4 separate regions of the Homo sapiens genome follow, and all the other regions are linked to region 1. Evidence: promoter capture Hi-C in 16 types of primary human blood cells and fetal thymus (Javierre and others, 2016). All regions are on one chromosome and are shown on one strand. The core of a region is centred on a gene start or on the middle of the fragment in contact, and the rest is flanking DNA. Distances in the headings are between cores, read along the strand shown. Region 1 holds the start of IL20RB-AS1 (IL20RB antisense RNA 1). Region 2 overlaps STAG1 (STAG1 cohesin complex component). Region 3 overlaps STAG1 (STAG1 cohesin complex component). Region 4 overlaps STAG1 (STAG1 cohesin complex component).

Region 1 (2,700 bases), core at 20-2,519:
TGCAGGCTTGCCCTACTCTGGTTCACTTTCCACACAGCAGCCAGAGTGTTGCTTTGTAAGATAGACCTGGTCGGCCGGGCGCCATGGCTCATGCCTGTAATCCCAGCACTTTGGGAGGCCGAAGTGGGCAGATGACTTGAGGTCAGGAGTTCCAGACCAGCCTGGAAAACATAGTGAAACCCTGTCTCTACTAAAAATACAAAAATTAGCCAGGCATGGTGGTGCACGCCTGTAGTCCCAGCTACTCAGGAGGCTGAGGCAGGAGAATCACTTGAACCCAGGAGACAGAGGTTGCAGTGAGCTGAGATCACGCCACTGCACACCAACCTGGGTGACAGAGTGAGACTCCGTATCAAAAAAAAAAAGAGATAGACCTGGTCTAGATCCTCTCCTCTTTCATTGGCTACCCTCTACTGACTTGGTCAAGCTTCGTGTCAAAGCCCTTCACCACATGATCAACTGCTTCCCTACCCCCTGCCCATCAGCCCTTGCCTCTCCTGTTCCGCAAACACACATGTCCTTTTATACAATGACCAGTGCTTGTACTCAGCCACATTTGGCCACCTATCTGGATTCCTCTATTACTTCTTTCTCAATCCTTTTCCAGGTACTACTCCAAAAGAAAAGTTATTTATTTCCCACAGAAGTCATTACAGAAGGGCAATTTTCTGGTGGCTCTGTTAAGTGTATAAATCCTCTTGCACAACAAAGCTGCTTACGTGGGCAGTAAATATGCAGTTAATGAGGCCTCAAGTGGGAGGCACAATTTATGGAGGCACAATCAGAGTAGGGAGCAGCAGTCCTGGTGCCACCTCTTCACTTCCAGAGCAGCTTTCCTTCCAGGTTCCCAATGTCAGCATCCCCAACACCTGCACACCCTGACACAGACAGTCAGGAATGACTTGAGTAGTCAAAGGGCATGACAGAGAGCAGCATGTAGAAAGCAGTTGGCAATTTTTCAAATATACCAGTAAGGGTTGTTTGTGTTCACAATACTCTGGCTTTGCAGGACTATTCTGATGCTAAAAAGAGTCTAGAAAGTTTAGGTGAACATGGTTCCTAAAGGAGGGGCTGGTTGGGGTGGGAGTGTAAGGAGAGAAGTGCCTTACTTGAGTTTCTATTAAAGGGATGCTTCAGGATGCTCCAGGCTGAGGTCTGTGAGCCCAATGTGGCCCTGACACGAAGGTTGTATGGCACAGTGGCCGTGATGTCATCAGTGACATCACACTCAGGACCTTCAGTGAGTGAGCACCAGCTGCTGGGGATCCAGATGTGGCTCGTGTACAGGCTCTCGTACTCCCTGTCAAAGAGAGGAGGGCACAGAGTTACACCAGCCCCTCTGACACAGGCTCAGTTATGGTTGCAAGTAACTGACTTCGTTCACCTACTTTGTACAGGTAAGTAAAATAAGTACTTTCTCATTATCCTAGCTCCTCCACTCTCCTCCCTACCAACCATCCATCGTCCCTTACTCCTTTTATTGCCAGATAGGGAAAGCTAGGCATAAACATCAATGTGTCTGGATCTCTTTTATCTCTTCATCTCCAGGGTCATCACCCTAATCTCAGCCACTGTCATTCCTTGCCTTGCTGTGATCTCCCAGCTTGGACACCTGCCATTCTCAAAACCATTCACCACTCAGCAGATTGTGACGTTTCTCTCCTTAATGGCTTCCTACAGGACTTAGAATGGGATCCAAACTCTTGCCAGTGGTCTTACAAGATGCTTTGGCCTTCTCTCTCACTCTGCTCCGAAGCGTGATATTCTTGCCACATTGGTCATTTCTCCAAAATGCTGAGCACTTTTTGCCTTAGGACCTTTGACTAACTGTTCACTCCATCTCAAACGCTCTGCCCCTGCTGTTCGCATGGCTGGCTCCTCTTGTCCTTCAGATATGGCATAAATATCACCTCCTCAGAGAGGCCATCCCAGGCCATCTAATATAAAGGAGCCTCAGTGTCAACTCTCTATGGCATCAGCCTTTTAGCTTCCTCCTAGCACTGATTACTATCCAAAATTCCCTAGAGCAGTGCTTTCCAAAAATAAACTTTCTGTGATGATGCAAATATTCTAAATCGATGTTGTTCAATATGGTAACCACTGGCCACATGTGGCTATTGAACACCTAAAATGTGACTAGTGTGGCAGGAAACAGACATTTTAATTTAATTTAATTTAATTTAATTTAATTTAAATTTAAATAGCCAGCTGTGGCTGGTGGCTACCATACTAGAGAATGCTGGCCTAGTATATTTATCATCTGTATCCTCCTCTAGATGTAAGCTCTCAAAATCCAGAAACCTTGTCAACTGTATCCCTGAGCCTAGAAGAATGTCTACACATGTAGGTGTTCAGTCTGTATTCATTGTTAATGAAATATATGGAGCAATTTCTGTGTCCTTATCACTATTCAATAGCTGCAAGCACCTGAACACCTGGAGAAGACTAGAGCCTGCTCAGCCCCAGGGCCAGCTGACCTTTAGGATTATAGTTCGTTTTGGCTCTAGGTATAAGCTTATAGTCAGGAAAAGTGAGGACTCCTCCACCCTTAAAGGATCTGAGTCTCCAGTGATTTATCCATCTCAAGTCAGAGTCAAACCCATTGGACAGTTGATTCACTTTTTAAAATAACTCCACCAAAATGTGTTATGCACATTCATCTTCCCAGAGAGTTCACTGTCAAATCCACAGAACAATTTC
Region 2 (2,725 bases), core at 35-2,534, 530 kb after region 1:
TTGGCATTTTTTATAAGGCAGCTCTGGTGTTGATGAATTCCCTCAGCTTCTATTTGTCTGGGAAAGTCTTTATCTGTCTTTCATGTTTGAAGGATATTGTTAGGTACAGTATTCTTGGATAGCAGTTTTCTTTCTTCAAAACTTTGAATATAGCATCCCAGTCTATCCTGACCTTCAAGATTTCTGCTGATAAATCTACTGAAAGCCATATAGGAGCTCCATTGAATATGATATGATTCTTTTCTTTTGATGCTTTGAATATTTCTTCTTTGTCCTTGATTTTTGTTAATTTGATTATGATATGCCTTGGGAAATTCCTCTTTGGGTTGAATTTGTTTGATGACATCTGAGCTTTCTGTTCCTGGATGCTGTTGTCTTTCTCCAGATTTGGGGAATTTTCAGCCTTACTCTTTTAATATGCTTTCCAGGCCCTTTTTCTCTCTCGTCTCCTTTGGGAATGCTAATTTTGCAGAAGTTAGTTTGCTTGAACGTGTCCCATAATTCTCATAGGCTTTTTAAATTCTTTTTTTCTTTTTGCTCTTCTGACTAGGTAATTTCATAAGTTCTGCCTTCAGGCTTACTAATTCTTTCCTCTGTTTGGTCAAGTTTGCTGTTGAAGCTTTCTAGTGAGTTTTTCACTTCAGTTATATTCTTTATTTCTAGGATGTATATTTGATTTTTAAAAATTGTTTCTATTCATCATATTTCTCATTTTGTTTTTCAAATTTGATTTAGTTTTCTATTTGGATTTTTTGTGTGTATGTAATTCCTTAAAATTCTTTTTAAGAGGATTACCCTGAATTGCCTGTCAGACATTTCATAGATCTTCAGTTTTTCTGGATCTGTTGCTGGACCTCTGCTGGTTTTGTTTGGTAGTGTAATATTTCCCTGACTTAAGTTGATGCTTGTGTATTTGAAGAGATAGCTACCGCTTCCACTTTTTTGCAAGTTTTCTTTGGTAGTGTTAGACCTTTACTTCTTAGTTTCAGAACTTGAACCCTGGCCTCTTGTTTTTTTCTTGGTCTGGCAAGAACTTATAGTGGAATTTAAACAGTATTCCAGAACCAAGTCACTGCACTTCTGTTCTTTCTCAGTCTGGTGAAGACTCTTAGTACTGGAGCTTAAACACTTCCCTGGAACTATATTGCTGGCCTTACATTATTTCCCAACCTGGGAAATCCTTAAGTGGGTACTGCAACTTAATCCTGACCTTTTAGTTGTTTCCAGGCCAAGGAAAGACTTTATACAGTCACCTGGGCTTTGTGGAAAATACATCTAGGGATTTGATCCTTCGCTTGGATTGTGCCCCTTGCAGTGCTTTTGCACTGGCCACTCCCTTCAACATGGCATTCCCACTGGCCAATGTGCCGAGTGGCTGCCAAGATCCGTGCACCAGTTGCTGTGATGTGCACCAGTTGCTGTGATCAGCACCCTATTCTTTCTCCCCAGTTCACCCCAGGTGTTTCTGGCCTCCAGGCACTCCCAGTGGTTCCGTGGGATGGAACTGGAGTGGGCTTCTTGCAAAGATGCCCAGACCAGCAAGGAGAGCAATTTTCCACTTCTAATTCCCTCTTACCAGAATCATGGGTCTAGGGAAATTCTCTTTGAGTTTTGCCAGCTTGTAGGGAGGGGGCAGTTGGCACCGTGTGAAATGACTGTTTCTCTTACTAATCATAGTTTCTTGATTCTGTGGGCCCAGAGGGTTTCTCCACTTCTCTTCAGAGTTCTAGCATATTCAGGGTGGTATCCTTGTGTTTGAATAGTTTCTGGTTGTATCTTGGTAGGGGGAGTGATGCTCGGCAATCTTCTGTTCCACCATCTTGCTGATATCACAACACCAAAAAAAGTTTTTATTAGAATATCTGCCACAGAAATCCAGAAGGATAAGCCTCCATTAGTTTTTGTTTCTTTGTGAAAATCAAGCCAATTCTTATGCAAATGAAAGCTTCACTCCATAAATGTTTTTTAGGCCCGTGTCTTGGAGAAACTTACAGTTTGATGACTTGATTAATGATCTCTTTTATCATTCTTCCATCATTTAATATGGTGACTTAGAAAATCTTAAATAAGCTATGGTGTATCCCCAGGAGTTCCATGATCAGCTTTCAAAGATACATAAATGTACACATCCACACACGTATAGTGTCTTGTAGTCTAGTCATAAGCTATTCACAATATTAACCAATCATCCAAAAAGTAGTAAGATCTGTCTGAAATGAATGTTTTACTACATGATCAAAAATTCCACATTTTAATACTCAAAATTTAAGCAAATTCCTCAATACCTTATTTATATGCAATAAATGGAATTATTTAAATTGGCACAAACTGGGCATGGTGGCTCATCCCCATAATCCCAGCACTTTGGGAGGCCGAGGCAGGTGGACGACTTGAGGTCAGGAGTTCGAGATCAGCCTGGCCAACATGGTGAAACCCCATCTCTACTAAAAATACAAAAAATTGGCCTGGCATGGTGGCACACGCCTGTAATCTTATCTACTCCAGAGGCCGAGACAGGAGAATCTCTTGAGCCCAGGAGGCGGAGGTTGCAGTAAGCAGAGATCATGCCATTGCCGTCCAGCCAGGCCGACAGAGTGAGACTTCATCTCAAAAAAAACATAAAATAAGCCGATCACGGTGGCTCAGGCCTGTAATCCCAGCACTTTGGGAGGCTGAGGTGGGCGGATTACTTGAGGTCAGGAGTTCGAGACCAGCCTGGCCAACA
Region 3 (2,700 bases), core at 170-2,669, 620 kb after region 1:
CCAGGCTGGTCTCAAACTCCTCGGCCTCAAGTGATCCACCTACCTCGGCCTCCCAAAGTGCTGGGATTATAGACATAAGCCACCTTGCCCCAGCCAATCTGTATAAATTTAAATAGATTAAATAGATGTATACATCAATCAGCACTTTGAGCAAAGTTAAAAAAAAAGTGACAGATGGAAATATTTTCAGTCCTACATAACAAATCCTACAGATCAGTAGGAAAGATAAATAAATCCCATAGAAAAGTGAGCGAGGGATATGAAAAAGGCACTTTTCCAAGGAAGAATCTTACAAACCAGTAAACATGAGAAGAGGCATTAGGCTGGACGCAGTGGCTCACACCTGTAATCCCAGCACTTTGGGAGGCCGAGGCGGGTAGATCACCTGAGGTCAGGAGTTCGAGACCAGCCTGGTCAACATGATGAAACCCCATCTCTACTAAAAATACAAAAAATTAGCCAAGCGTGGTGGCGGGTGCCTGTAATCTCAGCTACTCTCAGGAGGCTGAGGCAAGACAATCATTTGGACCTGGGAGGCGGGGGTTGCAGGTATCCAAGATCATGCCATTGCACTCCAGCCTGGGCCACAAGAGCAAAACTCTGTCTCAAAAAAAAGAAAGAAAAGAAGCATTAATTATATATAACATAAGTAATTAATAATTAATGAAAGCCAAGCACAGTGGCTCACACATGTAATTCCAGCACTTTGGGAGGCCAAGGCAGGCAGATTGCTTGAGCCCATGAATTCAAGACCAGCCTGGGCAACATGGCAAGACCCCGTCTCCAAAAACAAAAACAAAAATAGCCAGATGTGTTGGCACGCACCCCGTAGTCCCAGCTACTCGGGAGGGTAAAGTGACAGGATGGCTTGAGCCTGGGAGGTCCAAGCTGCAGTGAGTTATGATTGCACCTCTGCCTTCCAGCCTAGGTGACAGAGTGAGACCCCATTTCTAATAATAATAATTATTATTAATGAAATACAAATTAAAATGGATACTTACTGCTCAACAGATTGGCATGAATGAAAATGATTGACAAAGATATAGAGGAAAAGGCCCCTTTTGAAAACTGCCTTGTTAGAAGACAGTTTTGTAGTATATTCCAAAATTGAAGATATATATTCCCTTTAAGCCAGTAATTTTGCTTCTAGGTATCTACATGGATATGCACAGGTGTGTACCAATAAATATATGTAAAAGATGTTTTATTGCAGCAGTCTCTGTAATAGTAACAAACTGGAAATAGTCTAAATGTCTATCAACAGGGGAATGGTTAAATAAACTGAGCTAGATAAAGGATTTTTAAGACAAAATATTGAGTGAAAAATAGCAAGTTTCAGGACAAATGCAGTATGCTACCATTTATGTAAAAATAAAAACTTTAGCTGTAAAAGTAATATGTCTACACTGATCTAGAAAACTTTCAGACTTTAAACACTGGTTACCTTTGGAGAGAATAATGGTATTTGGTAGAAGAGAGAAAGAATAACTTTTACTTTGATATTCTTTGAATTTTTCACAACAAAATGTATTCTTTGTATTCACTTTAAATGTACACTTTAAGTTTTAAAGTTTAAGGCTATTGTATATACCAATATGTGAAAACATTTTAAAGTTTAAGAATTTATAAACAGCCTGTAATCCCAGCACTTTGGGAGGCTGAGGCGGGCAGATCACAAGATCAGGAGATCGAGACCATCCTGGCTAACATGGTGAAACCCCCTCTCTACTAAAAATACAAAAAATTAGCTGGGTGTGGTGGCGGGCGCCTGTAGCCCCAGCTACTCAGGAGGCTGAGGCAGGAGAATGACATGAACCCAGGAGGTGGAGCTTGCAGTGAGCCAAGATCATGCCATTGCACTCCAGCCTGGGTGACAGAGCGAGACTCCTCAGGAAAAAAAAAGAATTTATAAACAATTATCTATGAATAAATTTGAAATCCCTGGAAGAACTGTTCCTTCAGTAATGACATAGCAAGTAGTTCAGGCCAATCTATTGCTGAAGAAAACTAAAAAGGTGCAGAACATATTAGCACCCAGGAGCTATTTCAGTGAATGGTGTGATTAGAATAAATTGAGAGATTGGGAGGTGAGAGACTGAAGAAAAGAAATGTCAACAATACTTTTCAGGACCTTTGCTATAAAGGGAATCAGAGAAATGGGTTAGTAGCTGGCAGAGGAAATGGGGTCAAGAAGTTAAGAGTATTTTTAAGATGTATACATCTAGTACAGAAGGAATAGTTTAGGAGGCAGGAGAGAGCAGTAAACACAAGAGCAAAACTATTGAGCAGGCGAAACCTTACATACTCCCTTCTTATCTAATACATAGGAGGGAATGGCTTTAGGTGAAAGTCTGGACAGTTCACCCCTCATAACAGGAGGAAAGGTAGATGTCTACAGATAAAATTAAGTTTTTAGATTTGGTAGTGGAATGATAATTGCTTGTATATTACCTCCAGGGTTCTGTTTTTGTTGTTATTTTCACAGGAAATAGCTAACAGATATGCAATTTATAAAACTCCACCCAGCTTAAGAACTTTTTGGTATATTTTGTTACTGGGTGGGAAAAATCATAGCACCATGTATGTAAATGGTCTTCTTTTATATAATGTTCTTGTTTGAAATATAATAAGTGAAAAAACAAACCTCTTAACCCTATATTTCATATATTGTCATTCCTGTAAAAACAATAACAAAAAGAA
Region 4 (2,700 bases), core at 84-2,583, 550 kb after region 1:
GCAGGGTGGCATGCACCTGTAGTTCCAGCTACTCGAGAGGCTGAAGCAGGAGAATCACTTGAACCCAGAGGCAGAGGTTGCAGGGAGCCCAGATCATGCCACTGCTCTCCAGCCTGGGTGACAGAGCAAGACTCTGTGCCCCCCCCCCCCCAAAAAAAAAGAAAACAAAAATTAAAATCTTTAGTTACTGTATTATTCAAAAATGTCTACTTTCAAGAAAAACTACAGCCATGCAAAGAAACAGTAAAATGTGACCATACTCAGGAAAAAAAGCAGACAATAGAAATGGCTTCTCAGTAGGGCTATATGTTGGATTTAGCAGGCAAAGACTTCAGAGGCCTTTTAATAAGTATATTCAAAGAATTACAGGAAAATATGAAAACAAGAAGTAGAGAATCTCAATAATGAAAACCCAAATGGAATTTCTGGTGAGAAGTACAATGCACAAATTTAAAATTAACTGAGTAAGTTAATTAGCAGATTTAAGATGATGAAAGAGACAATAGAAAAACATGAAGATTAATAGAAATTATCCATTCTGAAGAACAGAGAAGAAAAAAGATTGAAGAAATACTATCAGAGCCTCAGAAATGTGTGGAACCACCATCATGTGCACTGAAATATGTATAATGGGAATCCCAGAAGGAAAGGAGAGAGGAATAGAGGCAGAAAAAATATTTGAAGAAATAATCACTGAAAACCTCCCAAATTTGATGAGAGACAATTTGCAGATTCAAGAAGCTTAACAAAATCCAAATAAAATAAACACAAAAGTTCCACATATAGACACAACATAGTCACATTGTTAAAAGACAAAGACAAAAAATCTTGAAAGCAACAAGAGATCAACAACTAATGTAGAGGGCAGTAGCAATAGTATTAACAGTTAGCTTATCAGAAATAGTGGAGTCCAGAAGACAGTGGAATGACATATTCAGTGAAAGTCAACAAAATGGCCAACCAAGAATTACAAATTTAATAAGATTATCTTCCAAAGATGAAGGTGTAAAAAACCATTACCAGAGAAACAAAAAGGAAAAATTTGGAGAATGTGTTGCTAGATCTCCCATACCAGAAATGCTAAAAGAAGTCCTTCAGCCAGGCACAGTGGTTCACGCCTGTAATCCCAGCACTTTGGGAGGCTGAGGCAGGTGGATCACAAGGTCAGGAGTTCGACTCCAGCCTGGCCAACATGGGAAACCCTATCTCTACTAAAAATACAAAAATTAGCCAGGCATGGTGGCATACGCTTGTAGTCCCAGCCACTCGGAAGGCTGAGGCAGGAGAATCTCTTGAACCCGGGAGGCAGAGGTTGTGGTGAGCCAAGATCGTGCCACTGCACTCCAGCCTGGGCAACAGAGTGAGACTGTGACTCAAAAAAAAAGAAAAGTCCTTCAAGCCATAAGGAATATCATAAGGTGATAAAACAAATCCACAAGAAGGAATGAAAAAAGAAGGAATGGGCTGGGTGCAGTGGCTCACTCCTGCAGTCCTGTCACTTTGGGAGGCCAAGGCAGGTGGATTACCTAAGGTCAGGAGTTCAAGACCAGCCTGGCCAACATGGCGAAACCCCATCTCTACTAAAATTACAAAAATTAGCTGGGCATGGTGGCACATGCCTGTAATCCCAGCTACTCGAGAGGCTGAGGCAGGAGAATTGCTTGAACCCAGAAGGCAGAAGTTTCAGTGAGCTGAGATCACCCCACTGCACTCTAGCCTGGGTGACAGAGTAAGACTCTGTCTCCAAAAAAAAAAAGGAAGAATGTAAATCTGAAATGGTAAGTATGTGAGTGGATATAAAAGGTAAAAGGCTGTGTGTGTGTGTGTGTGTGTGTGTGTGTGTGTGTGTGTGTGTGTGTCTGTCTATGTCTGTTTCCTTCTCTTAATTTCCTTGAAAGAACATGAAATTATTTAAATCAAGCTTGTCCAACCTGTGGCCTGCAGGCTGCATGTGGCCCAGGACAGCTTTGAATGCAGCCCAACACAAATTTTTAAACTTAAAACACTATGAGATATTTTCGCTTTTTTTTTTTTTTTTTAAGCTCTTCAGCTATCGTTAGTGGTAGTGTATTTTATGTGTAGCCCCAGACAATTGTTCTTCCATTGTGGCCCAGGGAAGCCAAAAAATTGGATACCCCTGATTTAAGTAGATAATTATAGCACTATAGTGTTGAGATTATAACATAAATATATGTGACAAGAGTAACACAAAAGGGAAAAAGATATGGAACTATATTGGAGCAAAATTGCTATGTTTTATTATAATTAATTCAATATCAACCTGAAGTCAGTTACAAGTTAAAAATGTATATTATAATCCCTACAGTAATCATTCATATTTAAAAATAAAAACAGAGGAATTATAGTGGTCCTCATCTGCTAGAGACATATGCTGAAATATTTAAGGGTGAAATTATATACCGTTTACCCTTGAACAATGCAGGGGTTAGTGGCACTGACCTGCACAGTCAAAAATCCATGTGTGCTCACTTCGGCAGCAGATATACTGAATTTGGATCAATATAGAGAAGATGAGCATGGCCCCTTTGCAAGGATGACATGCAAATTTATGAAATATTTTTATGAATCTTAAAATTTAAAAAATTCACGTGTAACTTTTGATTCCCCCAGAACTTAACTACTATAGCCTACCAATAACCTAAATGATCAGAAGCCTTAAAGCTGTTAACACAAACAATG

The links. The method cuts DNA at HindIII sites, captures the fragments that hold promoters and counts their contacts. A CHiCAGO score of 5 or more calls a contact.
Region 2: a fragment that was not itself captured here is called in contact with the fragment with the promoter of IL20RB-AS1 in region 1 in 11 of 17 cell types (monocytes, naive CD8 T cells, neutrophils and 8 more); the score reaches 8.5 in monocytes.
Region 3: a contact is called between a fragment that was not itself captured here and the fragment with the promoter of IL20RB-AS1 in region 1, in 7 of 17 cell types (neutrophils, monocytes, naive B cells and 4 more). The highest score is 8.8, in neutrophils.
Region 4: a contact is called between a fragment that was not itself captured here and the fragment with the promoter of IL20RB-AS1 in region 1, in 4 of 17 cell types (activated CD4 T cells, neutrophils, total B cells and 1 more). The highest score is 6.4, in activated CD4 T cells.

What each region holds. Positions count from the first base shown.
Region 1 is chr3:136,980,760-136,983,459 of GRCh38, reverse strand. IL20RB-AS1 (IL20RB antisense RNA 1) reads left to right here and starts at 1,269. Exons shown (of 4, transcript NR_183729.1): 1 at 1,269-1,397. It overlaps IL20RB (interleukin 20 receptor subunit beta), which reads right to left. Exons shown (of 7, transcript NM_144717.4): 3 at 1,110-1,300. The HindIII fragment of the contact is 2,087 bases long and covers 430-2,516 here.
Region 2 is chr3:136,454,281-136,457,005 of GRCh38, reverse strand. The region is part of intron 13 of STAG1 (STAG1 cohesin complex component); the gene reads left to right. Among named protein-coding and RNA genes, the nearest start is that of PCCB, 210 kb to the right of the region's middle. The HindIII fragment of the contact is 1,326 bases long and covers 622-1,947 here.
Region 3 is chr3:136,359,880-136,362,579 of GRCh38, reverse strand. The region is part of intron 26 of STAG1 (STAG1 cohesin complex component); the gene reads left to right. Among named protein-coding and RNA genes, the nearest start is that of PCCB, 110 kb to the right of the region's middle. The HindIII fragment of the contact is 9,862 bases long and covers 1-2,700 here.
Region 4 is chr3:136,429,966-136,432,665 of GRCh38, reverse strand. The region is part of intron 16 of STAG1 (STAG1 cohesin complex component); the gene reads left to right. It also overlaps the pseudogene RNU6-1284P. Among named protein-coding and RNA genes, the nearest start is that of PCCB, 180 kb to the right of the region's middle. The HindIII fragment of the contact is 1,180 bases long and covers 744-1,923 here.